Regions from separate parts of the Homo sapiens genome. Here all the other regions are linked to region 2. Evidence: promoter capture Hi-C in 16 types of primary human blood cells and fetal thymus (Javierre and others, 2016). All regions are on one chromosome and are shown on one strand. The core of a region is centred on a gene start or on the middle of the fragment in contact, and the rest is flanking DNA. Distances in the headings are between cores, read along the strand shown. Region 1 overlaps SPTLC2 (serine palmitoyltransferase long chain base subunit 2). Region 2 holds the start of ALKBH1 (alkB homolog 1, histone H2A dioxygenase). Region 3 overlaps SPTLC2 (serine palmitoyltransferase long chain base subunit 2). Region 4 overlaps ISM2 (isthmin 2). Region 5 overlaps SPTLC2 (serine palmitoyltransferase long chain base subunit 2).

Region 1 (2,700 bases), core at 184-2,683, 140 kb after region 2:
GAAGGGAGGGTTCTTTTTAAGATAGAGTTGAATGCCAAGAGTGGTAAGTAAAGAATTTGACTTGCTGAAGAGAAATCTGACTTCTCTTTATTTTCTCCCCCAGTTTCGCTTTTTCAATTTTAACACTTTTTTGAAACTTTAATTTAGACTTACAAAAAGAGTTACAAAAGAGTACAGAGAGTTCCTGTATACCATTCATTCAGCTTCCCTTTATGTTAACATCTTGCATAACAGTGGAACTGTTTCTTACAGCTAAGAAATTAACTGTGACACAATACTATAACTAAAGTACAGGACGTATTTGGTTTTCACCAGTTTTTCCGCTTCAGGATCCAGGTGAGGATCCACATTGTCTTTAGCTGTTGTAGCTCCTCAGTCTCCTCCAATCTGGGATAGTTCCTGTTTTTCTTTGTCTTTCATGACCTTAATACTTCTGAAGGGTACTGGTCCCTTATTTTGTAGAATGTCTCCAATTTGGGTCTGTCTGTTGTGTTGTTATGGTTTGATTGAGTCCGTGCGTTATTGAGAAAGCTACCACAGAAGTGATACCATTCTCAGTGAATCATGCGAGAGACTATGTGGTTTTGATACATATTACTGATGATGTAAATCTTAATCGCTTGTCTCAGGTGTCAGCGGGGATTTTCTACTACCAACTTACTGCTTTTCTCTTTGTAATCACCATATATTGTGGCAGAGATACTTTGGGACTGTATATAGCATTTTGGATTAAACTTTCACCCACTAACTTTAGTATGCATCTGTGATCTTGCCTGTGGCAGTTATTACCTTGGTGTTCTTTTTTTTTTTTTTTTTTTTTTTTTTGAGATGGAGTTTTGCTCTTGTTGCCCTGGCTGGAGTGCAGTGGCGCCATCTCAGCTCATTGCAACCTCTGCTTCCTGGGTTCAAGCAATTCTCCTGCCTCAGCCTCCTGAGTAGCTGGGATTACAGGCACCCACCACCATGCCCGGCTAATTTTTTGTATTTCTTAGTAGAGATGGGGTTTCACCACGTTGGCCAGGCTGGTCTCAAACTCCTGACCTCAGGTGATCCAGCCACCTCAGCCTCCCAAAGTGCTGGGATTACAGGCGTGAGCCACCGCACCCGGCTTACCTTGGTGTTCTAATGGTGATTTTTCTATTTTTCTCATTCTTTCTATACTTACTAATTAGAATTTTTGTGTAAGGAAGAGTTCTTGCTTCTCCCTTATTTATTTCTGTCGTTGTGGGTTTGTGAATATTTTTATTATTTGGCTTATAATTCAACACAATTGCTTCTTTTTTGTTGCTCGAGTTTTAGTTTTGGCCATTGGGAGCTGCTTCAGGTGGGTACCTGTGTCCTTTGAATATATAATAACTTTTTTTTTTTAAAGCATTCTTATACTTTCTGGCATGATAAAATGCTCCAGGATCATCTTATATTTTCCCTATCCCAGTTTTGGAATTAACCAGTTCTCCAAGAAGTGCTGGTTCTTTTTTTTGGAGAATGATATTTAGAAACCAAGGTCTGGGAACTAGGTGTGTTTATTGCTGAAGGAGTATCACTGCTTCTCACCTCTCAGTGACTAGAGCTAGAAAATGTATGTATATATGCGAACTCATGCATACACACACATCTGTGTGTGTGTGTGTGTGTGTGTGTGTGTGTGTGTGTGTGTGTGTGTGTGTATGCATGCATAAAGATTTGAAAGCCAGGAGTCTATTGATACTGCCGGCTCTAGTCTTCTCCTTTTCCTTATTCTCCTTCTTCTCCTTCTCCTCCTTCTCCTCCTCTTCCTCCTTTTCCTCCTCTTCCTCCTCTTCCTCCTCCTCCTCCTTTTTTTTTTTTTTTTCCCCCCAGACAGAGTCTCCCTCTGTTGCCCAGGCTGGAGTGCAGCAGCACAATTTCGGCTCACTGCCTCACTGCCTCAGCCTTTTGTGTAGCAGAGATTTGAGGCGCCTGCCACCACGCCCAGCTAATTTTTTTGTGTTTTCTTTTTAGTAGAGATGGGGTTTTGCCATGTTGGCCAGGCTGGTCTCGAACTCCTGACCTCAAGTGATCCACCCACCTTGGCCTCCCAAATTGCCAGGATTACAGGCATGAGCCACCATGCCTGGCCACTTCATTTTTAATCTGTACATTTTTAACCAGGTAGCTTTTTTATCTTAATAAATACTATGTGCATAATAAAAATTTCAAACACAACTACTGTTACAAGTTTCTTAAGTATTCCTTTAAGAATATTCTGTAATAAATAAGCATGTATATATATAGTTGACCCTTGAACAACATGGTTTGAACCATGCAGGTCCACTTACACGTGGATTTTTTTCAACCAAATATGGAGCAGAAATACAGTTTTCAGCCAGGCACAGTGTCTCACACCTGTAATCTTGGCACTTCGGGACGCTGAGGCGGGTGGATCACCTGAGGTCAGGGGTTCAAGACCAGCCTGGCCAACATGGTGAAACCCCATCTCTACTAAAAATACAAATATTAGCTGGGCCTGGTGGTGGGCTCCTGTAATCCCAGCTAGCTGGGACGCTGAGGCAGGAGAATCGCTTGAATCTGGGAGGCAGAGGTTGCAAGTGAACCAAGATCGCACCACTGCACTCCAGCAACAAGAGCAAGACTCCATCTCACACACACACATACACACAATATAGTATTCATGGAACACAAAACCCAAGTATATGGAGGGCCTGCAGGTCCCACAGGGCC
Region 2 (2,700 bases), core at 160-2,659:
CTTTACTGGGCTTGGTCTTCACCAACCACATGTTTAAAACACGGGGCACAAACCAACCTATTTCCCATTCTACTACTCACATCTGAGCCACTAAAAACTTAGAAGAAACTAAATCTTGCTCCATTTTGTTTCCAGGGGTTGACCTGAAACATGAATATCTACAAAAAGAGTGACCACGAATGTTTACATGTTGGTAAGCAAATATAAAAACCTCATCTCAAAACTGCAGCTGACAAAAATTGAAGGTGGTGAAAGATTTCAGAACTAATTATTCCAACCTTTATCTGTAGACTAGGCCTCTCCCGTAAGTTTCAATTTTAGTTACCGTGAAAATAACTATCATTTGCTGAGTACTTACACTGTATCTAACACAAGTCTAAGAAGTTTGCATATAAACTCAATCCTCTCAACAATCCTATGAGTTGGGTATTATTGACTCCATTTTATCGATGAGTAAACTGAGGCCCAGTTGTGAGCCCTTTTCCCATACTAACTTCAGTTATTCAAGTGATAACAACGATTAAATGGCCAAGTTGGAATTCTAACCCCAACGGTCTAGCTTCGGAGTCCACTTCTCAGCCACAATGATATACAACCTTTGTCCAATTGCCTGACGGAAACCTCACAAGTTTCTCAAAGTCAACACATTCAAACTTTACTCATCTTCTCTTGGCCTGCTCCTAACTTCTAAACAAACAATTCACCAATGCTAAAAACCCAGAAATCATTTCTCCCTTTCCTTTATTCCGTACACTTCTCCCACTTAAGCCATCACGAAACGGCATCTAATTTGCTTTTAAAACATTAATGCATCTGACCACCATCCTTCTACCATCGCCCTAATTCAGGTCCTCACGTTTTAAGTAAATTAATGAAATTGCCTTTTAGCTCCTCTGCACGCCTACAATCTTGCCACCTTGAATCCATCCTCCACACTACAGTCAAAATTATCCCTTCTAAATTGTAAATCTTGGTTACCAAGTAATAAATCTTTACACCAAATCACTCCTAAAGGCAAGAGCCGGTGCATTCGTGACCCCAAAAGCTCAAGGGACATCCCTAAACGGTTAACTGCAAACAAAATTTCTTTCTGCTCACTTGCATGCTCAGGAGCAGTCTCCTAATTCAGCCACCACGCTGACTTAAGTACCCTGCAAAAAGCAGAAGCTTTGAGGATCACTTGGACCTAAAAATTCCACTACTCCCACATCTCCATCACTCACTCGACGCCGCAGTCCAAGGAATTCTTCTCACAAAAGCAACCGGCTGATTGATACTTCTACGCAGCGCCGCAGCACCTCTCGCTGCTGAGGCCGCCATCTTCAGACTAAAGCACCTTCTCGAGCCGAGGTCGCGGCCCCGGAAAAAATTTCCGGATCCGGAACACGAGAGAATCTGCTTCCGGATCAGAGGGTATAGGCCGCGAGATGGGGAAGATGGCAGCGGCCGTGGGCTCTGTGGCGACTCTGGCGACTGAGCCCGGGGAGGACGCCTTTCGGAAACTTTTCCGCTTCTACCGTCAGAGCCGGCCCGGGACCGCAGACCTGGAAGGGGTCATCGACTTCTCGGCGGCCCACGCAGCCCGTGGCAAGGGTCCTGGTGCCCAAAAGGTACAGAGAGAGGAGTGGCGCGCGTCTCTCCATCGCTTTGCCCCGCGTCTTGGAGGGACTTACGTGTCTTCTTCGCCTCTTTTCACCTCCAGACCGATTGTTATTGAACGATTCCTGACCTCCTTTGGCTGCAGAGTCGAACTCCCCACTAACCGTCACACTTAGCAATAAAGCGTTGAGATGCCTGTTTCTTTAGGCGGCCATTCCTGGCGGGGGCGCTCAGTCAAAAGAGCCTGGGAATCCGTGTTTATTTCTTACTGTAACTGTCTCCTCACATTTCTGTTTGGGTTTTTGTAAAACCCCATAGAACGTCTTTGTAGACGGTAGGGTAGACTTCTGCAGCTTAAAAAAAACCACTCCCGAGGAATCCCAGAACTGACAGGGATGCGGCGCTGTTTGTTAAGCCACTGTGCGTAAAACTAGTCCCTGTCTTCTCCTCTGGCTCTTTTAGAAGGAGGTCATTGAAGGATTCTGAGAATCCCTCCGTGTTGAAAATAAATGGCAAACAAGTATATATGGAATACAGGCACCGTTCTCTCTCTCAGCTTTTCCCCATGGAGATTAAGAAGGGGAACACAGTCCGGGAGCGGTGGCTCAAGCCTGTAATCCCGCACTTCGGAGGCCGAGGCGGGTGGATCGCTTGAACCCAGGGGTTCGAGACCAGCCTGGGGCATGGCAAGACCCCCGTTTCCGCCAAAAATACAAAAAATTAGCCAGTCTCATAACCTGTTCTCAAGTAAATAGATTTTTTAAAAATTATTTTTTTAAGGGAACATAACAGGCAAGAGGGAAAACGGGGAACCAAAACTGTAGTCCAATTTATATTTTCTTTCTTTACAATCCACTTTAACGTTGAGGATATGCAGTCCCTTAATTTGCTCTTGGTGTTGTCCACAGATGTCTAGATGAGGCATTCTTTCCAAGCTTCCTAACAGCTCTGATAAAATTGGGATGCTACAGTATTAAGTGTTAATGATTGCATACTTGAGCTCAGCTTTTCAGCACCTTCATTTGTTAGGGAAAAAAAGTGGTCTTAGAGTTGTCAAAATACAGAAAGTCCACACCCCAATAATAATATACTTTTTCTCTC
Region 3 (2,700 bases), core at 105-2,604, 200 kb after region 2:
CTTTAACTTAGCAGGGGCATGGACTTTATAGCACTTTTTCAACTTTTTGCTTTGCTTTGGATAAGAAATCCTTACCTTTAAAAAAAGCTTCTAGTCTCCATAACCCCCAAAGTACTGCTTATTTGTTTGAAGAATCCAGCCATCGTAGTGCTTTAGTCACTATCGTAAACATTCATGATAGGGCAAGGATTTTAAAACAGGATTCTTGCTTCTGTAGTCATCAAGGTGAACAGAAGCATCCTACACAACCACTAAGGGCTCTATGTTTGTGTCATGCCTCTTCAAACACCAAGGAGTTGAACATGCTTCCAGTGATTTGTCTCCGTAATGCCTTCTTCCTTTATTTGGCCTTTCTTTCTTTCTGTACCTTCAAGTTCTTGATTTTTAAAATTCCAACTCTAGAGAAAACCAATATATGGTGGTGCTGGGCTTTGAAGATAGCATATCAGACGCCTTGGTTCTGTTTGTACACTTAGCCTTACATTTCAGGAGGAGGCTTTTCATTAGGGGCTTAAGCTAGCTCCTTTGGCTTTTAAAAAAAATTTTTTTTCAAATTTCTTCATTACCTAAGGGAGCCTGCATCTAAATTTCTCAACTAGTTCAGCCTAGCTGAATTTTCTAGTGTGTTATACACTTTGCTTCCTTCTTATTGGTGAAAACCAGGGGGATGAGTGGCTTCCATGGAGAGATTTCCTGATTTCTCAGGGAGGAAAAAAGTGATGACATTTACCACTACTTTTATGTTTTTCCCCTTTTTCCAAATTGATAAGGATTTCTGGTTCCTAGTGATCCGGGATTGGGCAACAGTGCAGAACTGCCAGTCATGCCGTAGGCCGTGAAGAAAGAATGTGAGTAACTGTTGTTTTGCAAGGATTTGTAGGGTTATGGGCAGTTGTTGTTTGAAGCATTGCTATGACCTAATTCCCAAGGTATCTTTCCTCTCTTGGTGTTCTAGGTAAGCCAATGAGCTTTAATCTCTACTTGCTATAACCGTGTGCTTAGAAAAAGAGGTGAGAGTAGTGGTTTTCCTTCAAACTGTCCACATTCATGAAGATTATGAATTGTTAGGACAGCCAGGGCAAGATAGACCCTGTCTCTACAAAAATTTTTTTCTAAATTAACCGGGCATGGTGGTGCCTGCCTGTAGTCCCACCTGTGTGGGAGAATCACTTGAGCCTGGGAGGTCAAGGCTGCAGTGAGCCATGATTGCACCCCTGCACTCCAGCCTGGGTGACAGAGTGAGACCCTGGCTCAATAAGAGGGGGAAAAAAAATTGTTAGGAGCTGGGTGCGGATGCAGCCTGCAATCCCAGCTACTTGAGAGGCTGAGGCCGGAGGATTGCTTAAACCCAAGAATTTGAGCGTAGCCTGGGCAACACAGCAAGACCCCATCTAAGAAAAAAATGTTTTTTAAATCAGCTTAGCCCAAAGGGGTTGTGAATGGGGAGGTATAAAAAGCAAAGATTATTTTTTGGCTACTAAGCCAAGAACTTACAGGGATTTTTTTTTTCAGTCCCAGAACCTACAGATACCCTGCTACTTGCTTCACGTGGATGCTCAGTGCCCAGCAGCCATCTTAATACATTAAACCAGTTTAAAAAATACCTTCCATGTGGAGAAAAACATGTCTTTTTCTCGCCTCAACTTTATCCACATGAAATATGTGCCCATGGCTGGGCGCAGTGGCTCACCTGTAATCCCAACACTTTGGGAGGCTGAAGCAGGCAGATTGCTTGAGGCCAGGAGTTCGAGAACAGTCTGGCCAACATGGCGAAACCTCATCTCTACTAAAATTACAAAAATTAGCCGGGCATGGTGGCACATGCCTGTAATCCCAGCTACGTCAGGAGGCTGAGGCACAGGAATTGCTTGAACCCAAGAGGCAGAGGATGCAATGAGCCAAGATCACACCACTGCACTCCAGCCTTGGCGACAGAGGGAGACTCTGTCTCAAAAAAAAAAAAAAAAGGTGTGCCCAGGCCCCTAGCCATTGCCATGTGCCCAGCCAGAGAGCCAAATTAGAGGGCTGGCTTCCCTATCACACAGAATAAATGCTAGTGCTAGCCAATGATCCCTTTGCTTTTAATGTATAGAAAATACTGTTGTTCCTTTTGTCATTTCCAGTGACATCTGTTTTCTAAGCAGCTCTTTTCTAGGGAGGAAACCAAAGGGGCTAGGTTAAGACCCTAATAGAAATGTTTTTTCTAATCTCTGGTGAGTCTGGAAGTGTCACATTCACAGTCCACCCTTGGGAGTGGCTTGGTGGAGCTGGGGACAAGGTTTTGTTTACTACATAGTGCACATGATAAATGGCCTTAAACTGTGATTCTTTCTGGTAGGATAAGTTATAATAAACTGACCCTAAAGAATGCAATGGCTTTTAAACTGCAGTTACTGTGTTCTTAATGAAGCAATACCCAAAGCTCTGTTCTTTTGGAGCACTTGAGGGGAGCTTGAATGAAAGGTGCAGATAAGAGCAGTACCTTGATCTTATGCTTTCTGAGTGTCCTGCCTTGTTGCCATCTGCATGGATGAGTGAATGCTTCTATGCACGAGGAGACTCAAGCCAACTCAGAGTCTGCTTTTTCCAACGCTCTTCCCAGGTTTCTTTTGCAAAGCTTGGTCATTTGGCCCAGGTCTTCCTGGAAAGTGGAGTACATGTCACTGACTAGGGTGGCGTGGTGTCTTTACCCTTAACATT
Region 4 (2,700 bases), core at 44-2,543, 220 kb after region 2:
TCCCGGTCCATTGTCCAGCCAGTTGCCTGGAAGCAGGGGCTGGATTGCCGGAGATTTGCAAGGTCTCACCTGCCAGGTGGGTGGCAATGAGAAGGATGTATTTCCTAAAGGCTGATTTTATCTGGTTGTGGGGTCTTTCTAGCCCAATCAGTGAGTGAGTGCCAGGGGAGAACTAGAACCTAGGTCTGTGTGGTGCCAAGCCTGTGGCCTCACCTGCTAGCCTTCTCCTGCAGCTGGCCACCTTCCTGGACCTCAGCTATGGCCTTCCTTATCCCTCCAGACCATTCAGTCTCTAAAGGGTTGGAAAAGCCCCCAGGGAGGGAGAGAGAGAAGGACAGGAATGAGGCCTGGAAGCTTGGCTGCCCAGAGGCCTCAGGCAAGTCTCCAGCCTCTCCGATCTCAGTCTCAGGTTGTTACGAGGATCAAAGGGAAGGATGGACGTGGAGAGTTGAACATCCTGTATAGTGTTTTGTTCATCCAGCACATTCAGCACCGCAGAGCAGCAGGCGGCAAACCAGAAGGTGCAGCCACTGCCTGGAGTTAGCAAAGCACAAGGCTTAAGAGCACAAACTCCAGCCATACCACTGACATCAAATCCCACTCTGCCAGCCCCTAGCTGTGTGACTCCAGGCAAGTTACGTTACCTCTCTGATCCTTGGCTGCATTGTCTATGAAGTGAAGATGATGCTCACACCTACCTAAAGTGTTGTTGTGAGAATCCAGTGAGTCTGTACATATAGGGTGATCGGCAAGACTGGCTCCGTTCTTTTTCTTTCTTTTTTTATTGCCTTTACCTGGGAAAGCCAACTGGCCACATTTTTTGTGGGGCCCAGTGCAGAATGAAAATGTTGGGCTTCTTGGCCGGGTGCAGTGGCTCACGCCTGTAATCCCAGCACTTTGGGAGGCCGAGGCGGGCGGATCACGAAGTCAAGAGATTGAGACCATCCTGGCTAACATGGTGAAACCCCATCTCTACTAAAAATACAAAAAATTAGCCGGGCGTGGTGGCTCACGCCTGTAATCCCAGCACTTTGGGAGGCCGAGGAGGGCGGATCACGAAGTCAGGAGATTGAGACCATCCTGGCTAACACGGTGAAACCCCATCTCTATTAAAAATACAAAAAATTAGCTGGGCATGGTGGCGGGCGCCTGTAGTCCCAGCTAATTGGGAGGCTGAGGCAGGAGAATAGCGTGAACCCGGGAGGCTTAGCTTGCAGTGAGCCAAGATCGTGCCACTGCACTCCAGCCTGGGCGACAGAGCAAGACTCCATCTCAAAAACTAAAATAAAAAAAGAAAATATGAGGCTTCTTAGCTATTTCCAAAGGGCAACAGCAGAGCGTTAAACTAAATATGGGGCTCAGTGCAAAGACACAGGTTGCACACCATGAAGCCGGCCCTGTGCGGGGAGCACTATGCTTGGTCAGCACTACTCTTATTACAGTGAGGAGCTTTGCAGCCTCCGCTGGGTGCCAGGGTGGGTTGGCTTAGAATAGTACATACCTAATCCCAGCTACTCAGGAGGCTGAGGTGGGAGGATTATTTGAGCCCAGGAATATCGAGGCCAGTCTGGGCAACATAGCAAGACCCAGTCTTAAAAAAAAAGAATAGTACTTACCAATCAGGAAGGTAGTTGAGGGAGAATGAAATCCAGCCCTATTCCTCTGCCTGTGGCTAAAGAGGCCTGACTAAAGAGTCAATTGCTATTGTAGGCAGGGTCTCAGGCCCGGCTAAAGAGGCAATTGCTGTGTTGTATGCAGGGTCTCAGGCCTGGCTAAAGAGGCAATTGCTGTTGTGTGCTGGGTCTCCAGCACCTCCCACCAGCATGACTTAGTGTGCAGCCTGGCTCTGTGTGGTTGGGCCTGGGCTTCAGGAGCTAGGGCTGCGGGACCTGCACTTGGTGACTGAATTTAATTATCCAGAACAAGTTTCTGACCCCTGAGGCACAAAGGAGAAGGGAGAACAGGGAACTGTGAAGGGGCTGAAACAGGTTAGCAGGCGGGCTCACGCAATGCAGTAAGGGTCTGTGGGGATTGGGACTCTGTTGTGTTAACTGGAAACACGTGGGTCAGGGGCTGCCCGGCCAAGCCTGGGAAGGTAAGCATAGGGGTGAGAGAGAGAGAGAACTGGTAAAGATATACCTCAGATGTATCTCTATTTGGGCAGTGACACCACCCCCCAAAAGAATGGCCTTGTGTGTTTGTACATGCATGCAACTCCACATGTAAGCTTAGAAGATGGAGAGAGGTGGTCTTGTGAGACAGGACTGGAGTTCTTCAACAACCTGGAGTCTCAGAATTCCCCTCAGAATGCCATGAGGATACACCTGCCGAGTGATTTTGCAGCAGTGTTCGGGGGACCTGAATGAGGTGTGAAGAACTGGCATGTTGCCTGGCGAGGGGGGTGCCCCTGATGGCTCCTCTGTCTGCCTTCTGAGTACCATCTGTCGCCACCTCTGGGTAACGTTCATTGCATGCTTAGCACCTACAAGGTACTATTCTAATTCAACAACCCTATGAGACAGGCGCTGGTGTTTCCCTAAATTACAGAGGAAGGAACTAAGGCAGATTAAGTAACCTGCCGGAGGTCATGCAGCTAGTAGGTGTACATGTTGGGATTGAACCCCGGTCATGTGGACTCCAGCCTGAACTCATTTCCACCACATTCAGCTGAGATGAAAGTGGAACTGCTCTGTGAAGACA
Region 5 (2,700 bases), core at 87-2,586, 160 kb after region 2:
CAGGACATATGACTAGGTTGACAGATCTTGAAAGGCAACTTCACTAGGATCTCAGGTGAGATAATAATGAATGGGAATTGTGCTGCCAGGATGCCTGTACCTGGAGTGGGAATACTGAGCACAGGCCAGGGAGTAGAAAAAATGAGGCCTAGGAAATTCTGTTAAATTCCACTAGACATTTGAAATTCTAACTTTTACTTTACACATCACTAATCCGTGTCCACTAATGGAAATTTAGCTGTAGTATCTACATACGAATCAAGGCAAAGTGTTTGACCAAATCAACTAAAATTTTGCTTTTCCATTTTCCAGAGCTGTGCTTTGATGTATTTTATTTCTGTCCAAAGGTGTAGTTAATAATAACATGCATAGCACCCAGCTTAGTGTGTGACATCTAGGATCCTTTCAGTAAATTTATTGAATGACTGAATGAATGCACGCATGATTGGCAATACCAGAAAATCAGTGGGTTCTTCAAGTACTTTATTGTAACATTGCTTGAATAGTTGAATGTTAAGCCAGAATGACCAAATTATGGAACCAAATTAACTAGATAGGTACATTTTAATAGATACATTTTTAAATAATGTCAGAACGCTTTATAGAGTTTTGTACTTCTTTGTTTTGAAAGGAACTGGGTCCTTGCAGGCAGCTACTGATGTAGGAGAAAAAAGACTACCCTGAGCAGATTGAGGTTTAATTAAAACTAGGTTTGGCTCATTTGAATTAATTCCAGTAATAGACTTGTTAATTAGGTGTTAAATGATCACCTTGAGAATACCGGGGAACTGTCAAAAACTAAGAGAACTGAGACACTTAAAAAAAAAAAAAAAAAAAAAAAAAAAGACATTCCAGGACAATGCAGTGGCACATGCCTGGAGTCCCAGCTACTCAGGAGGCTGAGGCACGAGGATCGCTTGAGCCCAAGAGTCCTGGGCTGTAGCACACTGTGCCAGAGACGTGTCTGCACCAAGTTCAGCCATCAGTATGATGACCTCCCAGAAGTAGGGGACCACCAGGTTGCCTAAGGAGGGGTGAATTGGCCCAGGTTGGAAACGAACAGGTTAAAACTTCCCCTGCTGATCAGTAGTGGGATTACGCCTGTGAATAGCCACTGCACTCCAGCCTGGGCAACATAGCGAGACCTTGTCTCTTTAAAACAAAACAAAACAAAAAAACATTCCAAGATTCCCATGCAGAAGGGTTAGAAGTGTTGAAAAAACACAGCCTTGCTGGGAGGGGGTCATAAAGAGAGACTTTCCTGCCTGTCTTCAGGGCTGACAGCTTTTAACCCTCCCGTCAAGCACCATACTTCCTGAGCCCAAGAACGTTTGGGTGTTGACTTTCTTCTTTGTTGTGCTTTAAAGTAATTTATTTCACTATTAGAAATTCATCGAAATAAAAATTAAGTTTTCTGGTAAGCACAGTTTTGTTCTTACCCACAGTAGAGTTTAGCAGTTTATCTGATGCTGGGAATCAGACTCGCTTCCTCCTGTTTTGTGACTTTCTGCCTAGAATGCTGTTGTTTGGAAAAAAAAAAAAAAATACTTGTTTCCGCCGGGTGCGATGGCTCACACCTGTAATCCCAGCACTTTGGGAGGCCGAGGCAGGCGGATCACCTGAGGTCGGGAATTCAAGACCAGTCTGACCAACATGGAGAAACCCTGTCTCTAATAAAAATATGAAAATTAGCTGGGTGTGGTGGCGCATGCCTGTAATCCCAGCACTTTGGGAGGCCAAGGCAGGCGGATCACCTGAGGTCGGGAATTCAAGACTAGCCTGACCAACATGGAGAAGCCCTGTCTCTAATAAAAATACGAAAATTAGCTGGGCGTGGTGGCGCATGCCTGTAATCTCAGCTACTTGGGAGGCTGAGGCAGGAGAATTGCTTGAACACAGGAGGTTGCGGTGAGCTGAGATCGCGCCATTACACTCCAACCTGGGCAACAAGAGCGAAACTCCATCTCCAAAAAAAAAAAGTGTTTTACCATTTGTTAAACACTTATCAAGCAACAAGCAACTACTCTCTACATAGTGGTAGATATGCTGTGTGGGAGATGCAGAGTTGAACAATAGGTGATCTTTGCCTTTGAAAAAACAGTCCAGTGGTAGGGGTAAGATTCCCGGGAAGAACTAGTCTCAGAGGCACAGATAAATTCTTCCTTTGTTCAGCTTGTCTTTTCTCAATTTCCTCCTCCATTCTCTTCTACAACCTCCTCCTTCACTCACTCCCACTCCCCTAAAACCTTAAACTTCCTTAAACCAGCTAAGTTTTTGAAGCAAACTCATATTTTAGATTTCTTATATAATAACTTTCTATATAAATGAAATTTTTCTGTGGATACTGTCACTCTAGTAAATTATCAGCAATCAAAGCAGCTTCTTGATTATTTTTTAAAGCAGCTTCTTGATTATTGAGCACAAAAGGCCTTTTAACCAATGGCTTAAGCCTTCTGAAATCAGCAAGCAATATGACCACCTTACAGGTGGAGAAATTTGAGCTCATGTATGGAACAAGTTTTCTCAATATCTTGTCTCCAACTAGAATGTAGCTTTTCTAACTCCATCTGCTTCTACTTCTGAGGTTGCATGATGATAGTTAGCATTTTATTAAAACAGACTATTTTATAATCTGTTTCTAATTTTCTGCTAATTTTCCAAAGTTTAATTGTGAGTAATCAGCCCAACAAATGAAAGCTC

The links. The method cuts DNA at HindIII sites, captures the fragments that hold promoters and counts their contacts. A CHiCAGO score of 5 or more calls a contact.
Region 1: a fragment that was not itself captured here is called in contact with the fragment with the promoter of ALKBH1 in region 2 in 10 of 17 cell types (monocytes, naive CD8 T cells, activated CD4 T cells and 7 more); the score reaches 19.7 in monocytes.
Region 3: a contact is called between a fragment that was not itself captured here and the fragment with the promoter of ALKBH1 in region 2, in 1 of 17 cell types (monocytes). The highest score is 6.1, in monocytes.
Region 4: a fragment that was not itself captured here is called in contact with the fragment with the promoter of ALKBH1 in region 2 in 1 of 17 cell types (total B cells); the score reaches 5.4 in total B cells.
Region 5: a contact is called between a fragment that was not itself captured here and the fragment with the promoter of ALKBH1 in region 2, in 1 of 17 cell types (monocytes). The highest score is 5.5, in monocytes.

The regions. Positions count from the first base shown.
Region 1 is chr14:77,563,368-77,566,067 of GRCh38, reverse strand. All of the region lies in intron 5 of SPTLC2 (serine palmitoyltransferase long chain base subunit 2), which reads left to right. Among named protein-coding and RNA genes, the nearest start is that of SPTLC2, 52 kb to the left of the region's middle. The HindIII fragment of the contact is 3,238 bases long and covers 1-2,700 here.
Region 2 is chr14:77,706,732-77,709,431 of GRCh38, reverse strand. It overlaps ALKBH1 (alkB homolog 1, histone H2A dioxygenase), which reads left to right and starts at 1,409. Exons shown (of 6, transcript NM_006020.3): 1 at 1,409-1,610. The coding sequence starts at 1,428. It overlaps SLIRP (SRA stem-loop interacting RNA binding protein), which reads right to left and starts at 1,329. Exons shown (of 4, transcript NM_031210.6): 1 at 1,224-1,329. The coding sequence starts at 1,320. RefSeq lists an enhancer at 1,446-1,775. The HindIII fragment of the contact is 1,367 bases long and covers 1,170-2,536 here.
Region 3 is chr14:77,506,600-77,509,299 of GRCh38, reverse strand. SPTLC2 (serine palmitoyltransferase long chain base subunit 2) reads left to right here. Exons shown (of 12, transcript NM_004863.4): 12 at 1-2,700. Among named protein-coding and RNA genes, the nearest start is that of ISM2, 9.1 kb to the right of the region's middle. The HindIII fragment of the contact is 2,530 bases long and covers 90-2,619 here.
Region 4 is chr14:77,488,456-77,491,155 of GRCh38, reverse strand. All of the region lies in intron 1 of ISM2 (isthmin 2), which reads left to right. Among named protein-coding and RNA genes, the nearest start is that of ISM2, 9.0 kb to the left of the region's middle. RefSeq lists an enhancer at 1-498. The HindIII fragment of the contact is 1,873 bases long and covers 357-2,229 here.
Region 5 is chr14:77,546,020-77,548,719 of GRCh38, reverse strand. The region is part of intron 9 of SPTLC2 (serine palmitoyltransferase long chain base subunit 2); the gene reads left to right. It also overlaps the pseudogene RN7SL587P. Among named protein-coding and RNA genes, the nearest start is that of ISM2, 49 kb to the right of the region's middle. The HindIII fragment of the contact is 4,311 bases long and covers 1-2,700 here.